Linked DNA regions of Homo sapiens: all the other regions are linked to region 1. Evidence: promoter capture Hi-C in 16 types of primary human blood cells and fetal thymus (Javierre and others, 2016). All regions are on one chromosome and are shown on one strand. Each heading gives the region's core, a stretch centred on a gene start or on the middle of the fragment in contact. The rest is flanking DNA. Distances are from core to core; before and after follow the strand shown.

Region 1 (4,877 bases), core at 1,141-3,640:
CCCGTCTGAGAAGTGAGGAGCCCCTCCGTCCGGCAGCCACCCCGTCTGGGAAGTGAGGAGCGTCTCCGCCCGGCAGCCACCCCGTCCGGGAGGGAGGTGGGGGGGGTCAGCCCCCCGCCCGGCCAGCCGCCCCCTCTGGGAAGTGAGGAGCCCCTCTGCCCGGCCAGTCGCCCCGTCCAGGAGGGAGGTGGGGGGGTCAGCCCCCCGCCCAGACAGCCGCCCCGTCCGGGAGGGAGGTGGGGGGGTCAGCCCCCCGCCTGGCCAGCTGCCCCGTCCGGGAGGTGAGGGGCGCCTCTGCCCGGCCGCCCCTACTGGGAAGTGAGGAGCCCCTCTGCCCGGCCAGCCGCCCCGTCCGGGAGGGAGGTGGGGGGGTCAGCCCCCCGCCCGGCCAGCCGCCCCGTCCGGGAGGGGGGAGAGGGGGTCAGCCCCCTGCCCGGCCAGCCGCCCCGTCCGGGAGGTGAGGGGCGCTTCTGCCCGGCCGCCCCTACTGGGAAGTGAGGAGCCCCTCTGCCCGGCCACGACCCCGTCTGGGAGGTGTGCCCAGCGGCTCATTGAGAACGGGCCATGATGACAATGGCGGTTTTGTGGAATAGAAAGGCGGGAAGGGTGGGGAAAAAATTGAGAAATCGGATGGTTGCCGGGTCTGTGTGGATAGAAGTAGACATGGGAGACTTTTCATTTTGTTCTGTACTAAGAAAAATTCTTTTGCCTTGGGATCCTGTTGATCTGTGACCTTACCCCCAACCCTGTGCTCTCTGAAACATGTGCTGTGTCCACTCAGGGTTAAATGGATTAAGGGCGGTGCAAGATGTGCTTTGTTAAACAGATGCTTGAAGGCAGCATGCTCGTTAAGAGTCATCACCACTCCCTAATCTTAAGTACCCAGGGACACAAACACTGCGGAAGGCCACAGGGTCCTCTGCCTAGGAAAACCAGAGACCTTTGTTCACTTGTTTATCTGCTGACCTTCCCTCCACTATTGTCCTATGACCCTGCCAAATCCCCCTCTGCGAGAAACACCCAAGAATGATCAATAAAATAAATAAATAAATAAATAAATAAATAAATAAATCAGAGCATGACACTCTCCTGTTTAAACCCATTAAATGGATTCCCATAGCTATTCAAATAAAGCCCAAACTTCCTACTGTATAGTGCCCATCTTTATCACACCCCTCCCAGGCTCCTCCACAACCTCCCTGACCTTCCCTTGTTCCCTTTTCAAGACAAGCTCTTTCCTGACTCAAAAATATCTTGTTTTCCTCTTCCTAGAACTCTCTGCCCTCAATATTTCATGTAGCAGGCTCCTTCTCATCTTTCATGTATGAGTTCAAAACCCCATTCCTTACAGAGGCATTTCCTGACTACCATTTCTAATCCTTAATGACCTACCCCAATCTCTATCATGGTACTGTTTTATTATTGTCCACATAACGTTTATCACCATCTGAAATCATGATTTTTGTTTTGCATACTTGTTTATTGTATATTGGAGCCATAAAGACATTTACTTCATTTGAATCTTTCAAGTAAAAAAAAAGTATTTAATAAATATTTGTAAAATGAATGGACTAAATGAACATCCGGATTCTATAAAATTAGTAAGTAAAAAGTAAAAAAAGAAAGTATTCTGAACAAAGATGCCAGGCTTTGTAGTTGGCGCTGGCAATGGAACCGTGTCTTTCAGTAGTTCCCACTCTGGTGAAGACAATAGACAATTGTGATGCCGTATGGCAAATGTTAACTAGGAGGCAAATAGAAGGTCCTGTGGGATCACAAAAGAAAGGATCCCTTAAAGAGTCGTTAAAATCTGAAGGATGAGTGAGTGAAGGGGAAATGAGGGCTGAAGGGGTGGAAGGAATGTGGTAAACTCCTAGGTAGAAGGAACAGCAGGTGCGAAACTGTGCGGGAAGAGATGGGAATCAGAGAAATTTTAAGCAGTTCCCTGTTCCTGGAGCACTTTCCCAGGGTGATTGTAGGGTTTGATGACATAATAGCATGCACACTACTGTGAATGGTAACTCGCCATGTAAGTTAAGATATTGTTATGCAGACCTGTACCTACCAGTCACTTACTATATCTTTTGATAGTCAAAGAAAAAGGAAGGATAATTTCGAAGAAAGACTTCGTGGGACGGCTTCTGTGACTTACATGCTGGGTCCTGGGACCTCACCCCATCCTCTACACTAGTTTTGTACAGTCCATGTTCGTGGCCTGAGAAGGCGTGGTGTTGCCTTGACCACGAATCTCATTGGCCTTTCAAAGGGGAAACTGTTGTAGGATTGGCTGTGGAGATAGCAAGAGGCCTGCCCCCTGTCGCTGATTGGGTGAGAGCGGCCAACCCCCTGCCTCCGTCTCTCGGCGGCCCCACGGGGGCCTGTTGGTTGGCAACCGATTTGCTTCCTCCGGTGCGTGGCTGCGGGGTTGCACCTGTGAAGCGAAGACAACCTGCTAGGACCCTGATAGGCGTACACCTCTCACTCCCACTCACGCGCCGACGACATGGGCTTGTCTCCGTTACTCATCCAAGTTTGTCTTGAGACTGGGCTGTGAGCCGGCACTGCAGTGAAACGCCGCAGATGAGGAAGTGCCCAAGTCTTCCTTCGGGAAGTTCTCGTTTAGAGGAGTCAGGAGAAAAAGTCATTGTTATATCCCAACTTTAGAAGCCGCTTATCTTGGTACCGTTCTGAGGTTCTAGAAAGCAAGTAACTTATATCAGTTTACTAAGTGTGGGAAAGTGACCCATAACTTCAAACATCTGCCTCAGAGTAAACCTGAGGCATTTGGGGACAAGTGTCAGACCCTCCGCTGCCTATCATGCACGGCAGAGCTTACCTCTTGCTGCACAGAGACTTCTGTGATCTCAAGGAGAACAATTATAAGGTAAGTACTGGGCACGTGGAGAGATGTGTTTCATTGTGCAATAATTTTTAAGAGGCAGTTTAACCCATTTTATTCTATAAGTAGTAATTTAGTTAAACCTGATTTGCCACTACAGTATTGTTATTTAATAAATCCATTTCACTGAAGTAATGTGTTTCATATTAATAACAATTATTATTACTTCAAAATAATAATGCTTAACAATATTGAACATATTATGCAGAGTAATTTATGTGGATCTAGGCACTGAATATCAGGGTCTGTCATGTAGTTAGTGACTAGTAGGTGCAGGCTTATGCTCATTAATTATAATACTATACAATAAGTAGTATTTCATTTTACTTACCAAAAACCTAAGCCTCAGAAATATTCTGTAAAGATTTTGCCCCATGATTCCATTACAGGGTTTTTGGACTTCAAAGCCCTAGTTCTTAATTCCTGTGTTCCACTGCTTACTGTCTAGTGTACTTTTACCAGCATGACACATAAATGCCTTCCCTTTATAGTTTTAACACAAAAGAAGCAATGTCCTTGGGCTTAAACGCCACCAATGAGGTTATCAATGTCCATGGCTGCCACAGGCTGATTTACGGAAAATGAAAAATGGAAGAGGGGGCGAAGAGGGAGTGCTTAAGAGAAAGAACAGAAAGAAAGCTGTCCATGAAAGGTATAGAGTGCTTCCCACAGTTGCTTCAGGTGTAGTTCAGTGGCATTGTTCATTTTTTACCTCTGCTATAAAAGTACTGCATTCACTGGAGATGTTAGGAACAATTATGGAGTCCAACAGCGAACATTCCTGGGGCATGGACCTAACATTTGATATTGTTTCTGCTCATCCTGAGCTCTGTAGTTCTCTGTTGAAAGAGAATCCAATGAAGGAATATGTAAATATAGATAATAGAGAGACAGGGCTCACCCAGACAAGCACTAACATACTTAATAACTATGTGGATGCTCAGAAGTGTTTTTATGTGTTTGTAAGTGTGTTACTTAACGTAATTCATAAGGTTTTCTATGAAATACATTCTTGTCCCTCCATTGGAACAACTCCTCAAGTATAGGAAAACTTTGCTTTTATATACAAGTGTAATTTTGGATTTTTTCTTAATGAAAATGTTCCCACTTCATGCCTTTCATATAGCATTCATATAGCTCTAAAATGTTTTGAAGAAACATGCACTTTCCAACTATTTCTTTCTTTTAAAATTTGAATATTAAATTGGTTATTGATTTACACAAACAGTATATAAGCCACACATTCTAATCTTGACTCTCTAGTCCCACTTGTGATTTCCACACTTATGATTTATTTTTAATTACTATTGCATATGTTTTCTGGGATCTATATTAACTTCCGTGAAATAAGACATGTAACACTTCCCCAGAGCAGCAAATAAATAAACTTATCAAGGAAAGAAAATTTAGAGTTTTTAGAATTCAGTGTGACCTGGTATATGATTTTCAAAACTTCAATAAATACTTAATAAGTTTTTTCTGATTTAATTTTGTTTTTAACTTCAAGGGTATCACTGCTAAGCCTGTAAGTGAAGATATGATGGAATGGGAAGTTGAAATTGAAGGTCTACAGAATTCAGTTTGGCAGGGTTTGTATTTTCAAAACCAATCTATTTTTTAAAAAAGTCTTTATACCATTATTAGCCCATCCTCTTTTTATGTAGGATAAGGTCGCATTATATAAATTTCCTGAAATTCTTCTTCATATGCATAAGTTTGCATTATACCAGTTGTCTAAAATTCTAAAAATATTCCCATTTTTTTTATTTATGACTTTTTTGCCATGTGTCAACATAGATGGAAATTTGGGGTATTTTTCTTTATGCCAAATCTTAATTTTATTACATTTTTAAGAAGCAGACACAATAGAGCATATCAATTGAGAGAATATCGTCTGCCTTCCGTGAGATCAGGGAATAACTATCAAAATTCCTATTGGCTTCAAAACCCCACAGTTACTTCTCATTTTTTCCTTTAT
Region 2 (4,877 bases), core at 914-3,413, 500 kb before region 1:
GATCAAGGCTGGGAACCTCTGTCAGACTTCACGTAAAGAACTAAAGGCTGCTCATGAATGAAGGCAGCTGTGGCTGGCCTGCCCTCTCCTTCATGTCTCTTTCTAACAATGTCCAAATTAATGTTCTCCAGCTCTGCAGAGGAAATATTCTAAAGCATAGTAGTTTAAACTAAAGAAGGACTAAAAGTCTGACAAAACTTCTACCATGTAATTTATATGTGCTGAGCTGATGTGGATGGGTATATGTTCGTGGTCAACCAGGGAGCCTTCCACATTCTCGAGTCAAGTTGGAGTGGTGTTTATTGTGGTCTAGGGAACTCTTTGGACAGGCAAGACTCCAGGCCAGTGTTTATGACAATGGGGGATCTCTAGATCACCTTTCCCAGGACATCCAGGGATGCTTGTGCACATCTGCACACTACATTTTAGGAACTCTATCCTTCCTTCTTTTTTTTTGTTTCTGTTTTTTGAGACAGAGTCTCGCTCTGTTGCCCAGGCTGGAGTACAGTGGTATGATCTCGGCTCACTGCATCCTCCACCTCCTGAGCTCAAGAGATTCTCCTGCCTTCATCTCCCAAGTAGCAGGGATTATAGGCATGTGCCGGCACACCTGGCTGATTTTTGTAGTTTTAGTAGAGATGGGGTTCCACCATGTTGGCCAGGCTGCTCTTGAACTCCTGACCTCAAATGATCTGCCTGCTTCGGCCTCCCAAGTGCTGGGATTACAGGCGTGAGCCACCACTCCCAGCCCATCCATCCTTCTTGACTCCATCTCCATCCTTCTCCACTCACTCTGCACCAGCCACCGTGGTCTTCCCAACTTGAACACCCTAAGCATTACCCCTGGAGCCTCTGCTTCCACTCCTCCTCTTGCCTGGGAACTCTTTCTTCCTCCATCTCCTTCAGGACTCATCAGAGAGCATCTCACTGGCCATCCTTCATAAAACGGCACCCCCCACAAACTACTATTCCCTTATCATGGTGATTTTTCTTCTTACAACTTAGCTTCAGACCCATTACTACTTATTTTTTATTTACCATCTGTCTGTCTCCTACAAAATCAAGCTCCATGAAGACAGGTTTTCATTTTCATTTTTTTCACTGCCGTCTGCTCAGTTCATAAAACAGCCAGGCCCCTAGTAGGCCTTTAATACTTGGTCAATAGATGTGGGACTTGACCTTCAATTTGGCCTGTTGTCCATATATATAGTGAATTAGGTAGAAAGCTATCATTAATCACTTTACACAGATGAGGAAACTGAAATTCAGAGAGGTTAAGTGACTTGCCCAGGGTCACTAACTAGTTAGAGAGAAGGTCATAACCAGAACCCAGATATCCTGAATCTCAATATTATGCAAATGATGTGAGCCATTTGTGACTCCTTAATTCTTCAGCCCATTTCCCAAAGGACACCATGTTGTGTTGCCTTAAAGACTGCCTTTAAATGGAGCACTGACTCCATTTAAGCTTGATTGATTCTGCTCACAGACTTCTCAGAAATTGGAATTTAGAGGTGATAGGCAGAGACTAGTGCTTTTTAGTACAAACCACTTTTCGGTTTGTCCAGCGTCTACTCTGAACTCTGTTTATTCCAAGTCTAATGCAGAAAATACATGCACTAAAAAACAAATTTAAAATAAATGATAAGTGAGTTAGAAACTGCCTGGGGATGTCAGGAACTTATGCACCGTGCTATGTGGGTTTTGAGTAAATATTTGCTTTGCAAGCCAGGAAGCAATATGTATTTACCAAGGCAGTCTCAGGCTGAAGGGCACACATGCTACTTCTGGGGCTTGGCACGATCTCTCCAGAGAAGTGTGCACGTGGGCCTAAGCACCACGGCGTTCTGCAGAGAGGAGGCAGCTTGGCATCAGAAACCCGGGTTCTCATTTGAATTCTGCCCCTCTCTAGTTGGGCAAATTTGGGCAACTTACTGCTCTCTCTGGGCCTTTTTAGCCCTTAACATCCTATGACTTTAAGACAGACCTGAAAGACTTGTATCAAAATAAAAATAGTTAGAAAGAATAATAAGACCTAGTATTTGATAGTACGACAGGGTGACTATAGTCAATAATAATTTCATTGAACATTTAGAAATAACAAAAAGAGTATAAATAACAAAAAAGAGAACATTTAGAAATAACAAAAAGAAATAACAAAAAGAGTACACAGATGAGGAAACTGAAGTTCAGAGAGGTTAAGTGACTTGCCCAGGGTCCCCAACTAGTTAGAGAGGAGGTCATAACCAGAACCCAGGCATCTTAACACAAGACATAAATACTTGGGGGGATGGATACCCCCTTTTCCATGACGTGATTATTAAACATTGCATGCCTGTATTGAAGTATCTCATGTACCTCATAAATATATGCACCTACTATGTACCCACAGAAATAAGAAATAATAAAATAATTAAAAGTAAAAATTAAGAAATAGTTTTCTGGTCAGGAAATGGTTCAGACGTGAGAGGGCGGGGAAGAAGTTGTGAGTGCTTTCCTGTCTCTTTCTTCTTCTATCTTTTCCATTGAGTTAACTCTTTTCTCTCTTGTTTTTACTCTCAATTCAAGCATGTCTTTCTCTAAGCACTTGTAACCAATGCCAGAACTTCCTGAGGGCCTTTGCTGTGTTCTTCAACAACAACTAGTACCTGTGCCGAAAACAATCTGTGCTTTCAGGATAAGTGTTTGGCTATGTGGGGTGATGCGGTGGGCAGTGCCTAGAGGTTCCTCTGTCTAAAACATCACTCATCAGATCACACAGTGGGAAAGATGCTCACTGAACACATTCACTCAGCAGCTGCATATTGAGCTCCTTCCAGAGGGATATGTCAGCCAACAGAGCTCAGCCTGGCCCTCGTGAAGCTTAAGGTCTGGCGATGGAGAAATGGTTAGGGAATCAGCCCTAGTTCATGCTCCCGTGAAACTATTACAGGAAGCTGTAGCCACAGGAGGGGCACCTCCTTCCAATCTCAGTCTTGGCGAAAACTCTGGCAAACCTTTCCAAGGTATAATATGTGGCTTCTAAAACAAGATCTGAAATTATTCAGATAATTTCAGATAATAACTTCAGAGAGCTGAAGTTATTCAGGCAAAGGTGAGGAGGGAGAAAGTGTTCCGGGCTGAAGGTATACGTGTGTGTAAATGCAGAGGCCAGGCTGGGGGTGGATGGATTCAAAGAAGGCAGAGAGCAGGGGGGCTGGAGTGGGAGAGGGAGGCAGGAGATGAAATTAGAGAGGAGAGGGGGTGGGCTGGGTGTTGCCTAGAGCCTTGTGAGCACTTGAAAGAGTTTGGGCTGGCCAGGCACGATGGCTCATGCCTGTAATCCCAGCACTTTGGGAGGCTGAGGCAGGTGGATCACCTGAGGTCAGGAGTTCGAGACCAGCCTGGCCCACATGGTGAAACCCCGTCTCTACTAAAAAAACAAAAAACAAAAAAAACAAAAATTAGCTGGGTGTGGTGACACGTGCCTGTAGTCCCAGCTACTCGGGACGCTGAGGCAAGAGAATCGTTTGAACCTGGGAGGCAGAGGTTGCAGTGAGCCGAGACTGTGCCATTGCACTCCAGCCTGGGCTACAGAGCCAGACTCCGTCTCAAAAAAAAAAAAAAAAAAAAAAATAGTTTGGGCTTTGTGCCCAGGGCAGTGGGCAGTTCCTGGAGCTTGGGAATGTCACATTCAGATTTGTACTTTAGCAAGGTCACTCCTCACCTCTGCAGAGTGTACAGCCCCTCTCTGGAGGGAGGCAAGGCTGGAGAACCAGGGAATGGGTGACCGGGTGAGAGAAATCATAGAGCAGAGGAATCTTTTGATTCCAAGAGCAGGTCCAGCTGTGGAGCTTCCAGAGCAGGTTTCGTCTGCTGTTCTTTCTCAGACCCCTGTGGTTCCTTTTCTCCATGTGGCCACAGCATTCTCAAACTTGATTTTAATACATTCTGGGGTTTTGTCACATTAGAACAATGGGATACAACCCCTTTGAGCATGAGAACTGTTTCTTAACGTAAAAGACTTCACCCCCACGTCACGGTTCTGGTGCTTTTAGTATCTGTTAATTGAGAAAATAACTAAGGAACAAAAGCCTCCAGGAGATGGAGGCACACTTGAGAATTACCCACGTCTATATGGGAGCCAGGATTTAACCAGTCTGTTGACATGGCTGTTGTAACGTATGCATCTGTGGAGCCATCTGAAAGAACTCTGCACCCCCCACCCCCAAGGGGTTGGGAACCGTTGCGCTGGAACATGTGTGTTAAGAAGCCACATAGACATCTGTCCCCAGAGTGCAGTGCATGGCTGCCTTCTCTGTAAACCGTGGGGTGCATAAACTCAGCTGGTTCTAATTGCACAGGGCATGCCATATTGTTGCCCGATGTAATGTCAATTTTTATTTATTTGTGTTTGTGAAAAGCAGGGCTGATTAGACCACTTAAAACTGCACAGGCTGGTTAGAGCCAGGCTGGCGTTAGTGATTTCAGCTGCCCTCCCCAAAGTCATCAGCGCTCCCAGCTCTCAGCCTCCCTCTGAGAATATAAAATAGGGGCCTTGTGCTATCATGATTTCTATTTCATCCTGACTCTTATAAACTACCATATAAAAAGCAGCCGCTGATGGTTTTTTTACATTTCAATTTCATTTTGAGGCTTGGAAAATCACAAAATAAAAATAGCCCTGAGAGTGGAAAGTTTGGGGGAGTTTGTTTAGCTTTCTTTGAAATATACTTTGTGAAGAAATGTCAGTCATGAGATCTCTCTTGGTGGAGTGCTTTACTGTTGGTGTAATTTTTTTACATCGCTTTCTCCTGTGTAATCCTAAGGGAGACCCTGTGAGGTGTGAATGATTACTATCCTCATTCTGCAAATGAGACAGAAGCTCAGAGAGATGA
Region 3 (4,877 bases), core at 1,663-4,162, 460 kb before region 1:
CAAATCACAAACACAGTATTAACAGTGGGGTGGAAGTATTAGTAAAAATTCATCTTATTAAATGAACATCTGTTTCCTGGAATTTGACAGCATTCTCATACAAGTATGGCCAGGCTGGGATGGCTCACTGAGAAAGTTTAAGTATACTTTCTAATGAAACTTTCGTAGTTACAAAAACTACAGCGATGAAGTCAGTGGGTAAAGAGTCTGAATTTTAGTACCTTTAAAAAAGAAGTCAGACACATTGTTTTATCTGCCCAATTCTAGAGTCATTATATCTCTCCCTCCCCAGTCTAGTGTTAATAAAACAGACAGACTGGGCAGGGAAATGGCAGTTAGTGGGCAAAGGGTTTTTGGTAAGGAAGTGGGCATAGTCCAGAATATTGGGAAATGCCACTGCCTTTCATCTGTTTTTGGGACTGGGATGGGTTTCCATGTCAGATTGATTGCAAAAAATGGCTGCAATTCTTCAAGTACTTTGCACTGTGACTTTGCCAGCAACTCCATTAAGAAATGGAGTCTATTTCCTACCCCTTGAATCTGGGCTGTCTTGTGACTTACTTTTAGCCAGTAGAATGTGGCAGAGGTAGTGGTATATCGGTTCCAAGCCTAAGGTCTTAAACCAAGACCTCTTGGTCAGTTCGTTTTTTTGAGTTTAGTCTCACTCTGTTGCCCAGGCTGGAGTGCAATGGCGTGATCTCGGCTTACTGCAATCTCCATCCCCCAGGTTCAAGTGATTCTCTTGCCTCAGCCTCCCAAGTAGCTGGGATTATAGCCTGCCACCGCGCCCAGCTAATTTTTGTACTTTTAGTAGAGACAGGGTTTCACCATCTTGGCCAGGCTGGTCTTGAACTGCTGGCCTCGTGATCCACCCGCCTCAGCCTCCCAAAGTGCTGGGATTACAGGCGTGAGTCAGCGCACCTGGCCATCTTGGTCAATTCTAAGATCAAGAGTTCTTGAACATTTCCACTTTCTTTTGCCCCTCTGCCTTTATTAGGAGAACAATCCTGAACTAGCCTGCTGGAAGATGAGACATGACATGAAGCAGAGATGCATATTCCCAGCTGAGGCCATCCTAGATCAGCCAACTCTGGCAGACCTTCCAGCTGTGGGCAGTCACATAACAAGCTCAGCTGCATACTTTGAGCCCATCCTGGACCAGCATGGTTGCTCAGCCAGCTCCTAGATGCATGAGAAATAGTAAATGGCTGTGGTTTAAAGACACTAGACATTGGGATGGTTTGTTATGTAGCATTATCGTAGCAATAGAGAGCTGACAAAAGCACCAGAGGAAAATCTCATCAGTGACAGGAAGTCTGCTCCCCTCTATCATGCCCTCTTTCTTATGCTTGTGGCTTTTGCATTTCCTTCTAATAGTGGCTGCCCCACTCTCACCCAGCCCCACAGAAACTCTGCAGTAAGGCCACTGGTTACCTACTGGGGAAAGGTGGCCAATGCTTACATTACAAACACACAGAAGAAACCATACTCATGTTTTCTCCAGCCCAGAGCAAGTCAGCAACATGTCAGAAATCCAGACCTTCCTCCTTTGTTCCTTTTGTGTTTGCACTTTGGTTCGCTTTCCACCCAATTCCCATCATGGCTCCTCTTTCTACTTAAAGACGGTTGTATCAAAGGGTTTCCAATCAAGAAATCTGCATTTGCACAGGTTTGGATTCACACTCTGGCTCAGCCTCCTACTAGCTGTGTGCTCTCAGAAAAGTCGCTCAACTCATTGAGTCTGTTTCTTTGTACATAAAATGGGGATGATAATTCCTACCTATAGGGTTATTGTGAGGATCAACTGAAGTATGTACTTAGGATGTATTAAATAATACATCAATAAATGGTAGTTTTGACTAATTCGTGGGCCCCATCCTCTCCAGTTCTCAACTCTGGGGCTCCTTTCAGAATTCTAGTTTGGGTTCAAACCACCTGCAAGCAGAATCCCATAGAATCTAGTCTCTTAGGACCTGCTCTAATCTCTAGTCCCTGCAGGCACCCAGGCTGATGTATTAGTGTCCCCATGCAAGTACCCTTTACAACAGAAAAGTGTCAAAACCCTTTTGCAAGTGGGTCAGTGGGCTATCCTGCCTCCCCAAACCCCAAGCTGTGCTGACCGCCTGCAATTATTTCCACATGATGCAATGCTCCCCCTCCCCTTGGGAGCAGTATTAGGTTTCCTCCCATTCCCATACACTTCAGAGACTGCTACCCTCTCACATTTCAGACGCTGACCTGCTCCTTTGCACTTTTCCCCTCTGCTTGTCTGGAGACCTGCATAATGAAATTCAGACAGTGGTGACTAACTTCCCCTCAGAACAAGGTGGCGTGGGCTGGCAGGGAGCATGCTTCTCCCAAGGCTGGGGCATAAAGCTGAGTGAGAGGAAGCTTGGTGACTTCATTGCTTCGTGTCAGATCAGAGGTTCCTCGCTCTGAAGGGAAAGGCAAACACTTTTGATCTGACTATGGGAGGCGGGGAGAATACATGCGATCTATAAAATGAAAGAGGCTTTCCAAAAACAACAAGGCTGAATCATAAGAACTTACATTTATGGAACACTCTGCCGTTTCTAAGGCTCTTTTCACACGCATTGTTTCATTTGACTCTCACAGCAGCCCTGGGAGGCACAGGGGACCAGGATTAACATCTCTGTTAGACCAACATTCCCGCTAGACCTTCCAGAAGAGTGCTGAGGTCACACAGTAAGGAGGTGGCAGAGACTAGGCCCACCTGCAGGCCTCTGGACCCCACACCCAGCACTCCGGCTCTGTGGTGCCGCCTTCTCTCTTGCACTTCAGACCATGAGTAAGGCCCAACATGTTTAAAGCTTTCCTGTAGAAACACCCCTTATGGCAGCAAACTTACTACCTCCGATGCAAACTTACTACCAAATCTTGCGTCTTATCTAAAAATTTCATTTGAACTATGAAGTTTGTTATATTAATTGCCACATTTATATTAAATATATTTTATATTCTTAAGGTAAAGGTGAAGCTTTTTATTTTTGCTTCCCTTAGATAAAATAAATGTTTCAGGAAGATGGCTTTGCTTAGCCTTGGGTGACTTCAGGAGCCCGTGGCACCAGGTTCTAGATGCTTTCAACCAGTGTGGAAGATGAGTGTGTGGCCTACATGCGACTGCCTGGAGAAATGCTTTATTGAGCCCCCACCTCAGTAAGGTGGTTTTTTAGTTGGTATTGTTGACTGAGGCTTCTTTTAAACCATATGTCCCAAACATTCCATGCTGCATTCTTTGACAATGGAAAGACACATGTTTGTAAGGTGTGTTTAGTATCTTGAGAGGCTGGAGGCAGGAGCTTTCGTGCATTCCCAGATGCACTGAGTGCACTTGCAGAGCAGAAAACATGTGCTTTAAGCAGGAATCAGTGATGGAAGCAGGCACAGCCAGAAGACCAGCTGTGTGTGGAGCTCAGCCGAGGGGTCGGAACACAAGATTTAGGGGCTCGGAATTGTTGTAACTCTATGCCATACCTTACGTCACCCTCCAGGCAGCTCTCTCTTGGAAGAGTCTTGGGGAGGAGTCCCACTGTCAGCCAGGGAGCATTCTCCTCTCTGTGCCTTTCAGGAGGTCCAAGATCTTTAAATTGTAACTTGGACTCCACAGGGCCCTGCGGTGCAAGCCTCAGCTGACTCTGGCTAGCCTTGCCAACTCCTGCTGTCCATCCCAGAGCTGGCTCAGCACTTGCTACTGGCGTTTTGCTTCAGAGAGGAATCCTGGCACCACCAATCTGCAAAGTTAGTTGAGACAATTATAGCACACTTATCAGAACAGATGGGATCAAAATCTCAAGTCAAAGGTGAGTGAGGTGACAATCATGAGGGCCGTCTCCTTTGACATGGGTTTGAAGGCAGTGGGAATATATTCCAAAGTGGTCTTACAATTGTTTGCAATTACAGACTAGGGATTTGCTGAAGGAAAGAGAGTCATCCAAGAGGACAATCTCAACAGCTAACATGTACAATGGTTTCTTATGTGTGCCAGACACTGGCCTTAGCATCTTAAGTGCATTTGTTTATTTACACCTCACAACAGTCTTACAAGGTAGGTACTAGTGTGACCTGTCCCGTTTACACAGATAAGAACATGAAATCACAGAGACTGTAAGTAACTTGTCTAAGGTAAACAGCTAATACGTGGCAGAGCTGGGATTTGAACCCAGGGCCTCCTTACTTGTAACTACCATGCTATACTGCTTCTCACTGCCTGCCCAATGCACTCACAAGTAACAGTAAATGAACTTTCTTTAGCCCTATTTTATGCCAAGCCATGTGCTGAATGCTTGACACGCCCTATCTCTCACAGTTCTGACAAGATTCCTGGAAAGGAAGTACTATCATCACTTCCATTTTCTAAATTACTCCCAGCTTCAAATGAGGAAACTGAGGCTCAGAGATGTTAACTTGCCAGGAGTTATATACCTAGTAAATGACCCTAAAGCCGATACTCTTAATCATTCTATTTTGCTGCCTTCTATATAAACTGCATAAACTGTGACTAGCTCAAAATAAATAAGAGGTTGTTTTTTTTTCTTTTTTTTCTTTAGAGAGTGTCCTATGTATTCTGGACACTAAATAAGTGCATACTTATTTCCAAGAAAATGCTTATAGGATTTGAGATCTGGGCGGTAGGCAGTATGGTGAAACGCAAAGAACCCTGAGCTTGCAGTCAGAAGATCTAGGTGCAAGTCCCATCTCTGGCGCTTGGCTTCCCAGTTTCCTCATTTGTAAAATGGAGCAAACGAGAATGCCTGTCTGTGGGAAATGAATGATAGGACATATGTGGTGCTGTTATTATTTAACATATGGAAATAGTTCTCTTTTTAGACCAACTCCTTTCATTTTTTTTAGATGAG

What was found. The method cuts DNA at HindIII sites, captures the fragments that hold promoters and counts their contacts. A CHiCAGO score of 5 or more calls a contact.
Region 2: a contact is called between a fragment that was not itself captured here and the fragment with the promoter of UBE2U in region 1, in 2 of 17 cell types (M0 macrophages and M2 macrophages). The highest score is 5.8, in M0 macrophages.
Region 3: a fragment that was not itself captured here is called in contact with the fragment with the promoter of UBE2U in region 1 in 1 of 17 cell types (fetal thymus); the score reaches 5.4 in fetal thymus.

The regions. Positions count from the first base shown.
Region 1 is chr1:64,201,233-64,206,109 of GRCh38, forward strand. UBE2U (ubiquitin conjugating enzyme E2 U) reads left to right here and starts at 2,391. Exons shown (of 10, transcript NM_001366232.2): 1 at 2,391-2,884; 2 at 4,407-4,488. The coding sequence starts at 2,819. The HindIII fragment of the contact is 16,836 bases long and covers 1-4,877 here.
Region 2 is chr1:63,699,603-63,704,479 of GRCh38, forward strand. All of the region lies in intron 1 of LOC105378771 (a long non-coding RNA gene), which reads left to right. Among named protein-coding and RNA genes, the nearest start is that of ROR1, 72 kb to the right of the region's middle. The HindIII fragment of the contact is 1,394 bases long and covers 1,467-2,860 here.
Region 3 is chr1:63,744,079-63,748,955 of GRCh38, forward strand. No RefSeq gene overlaps it. Among named protein-coding and RNA genes, the nearest start is that of ROR1, 28 kb to the right of the region's middle. RefSeq lists an enhancer at 2,200-2,494. The HindIII fragment of the contact is 167 bases long and covers 2,830-2,996 here.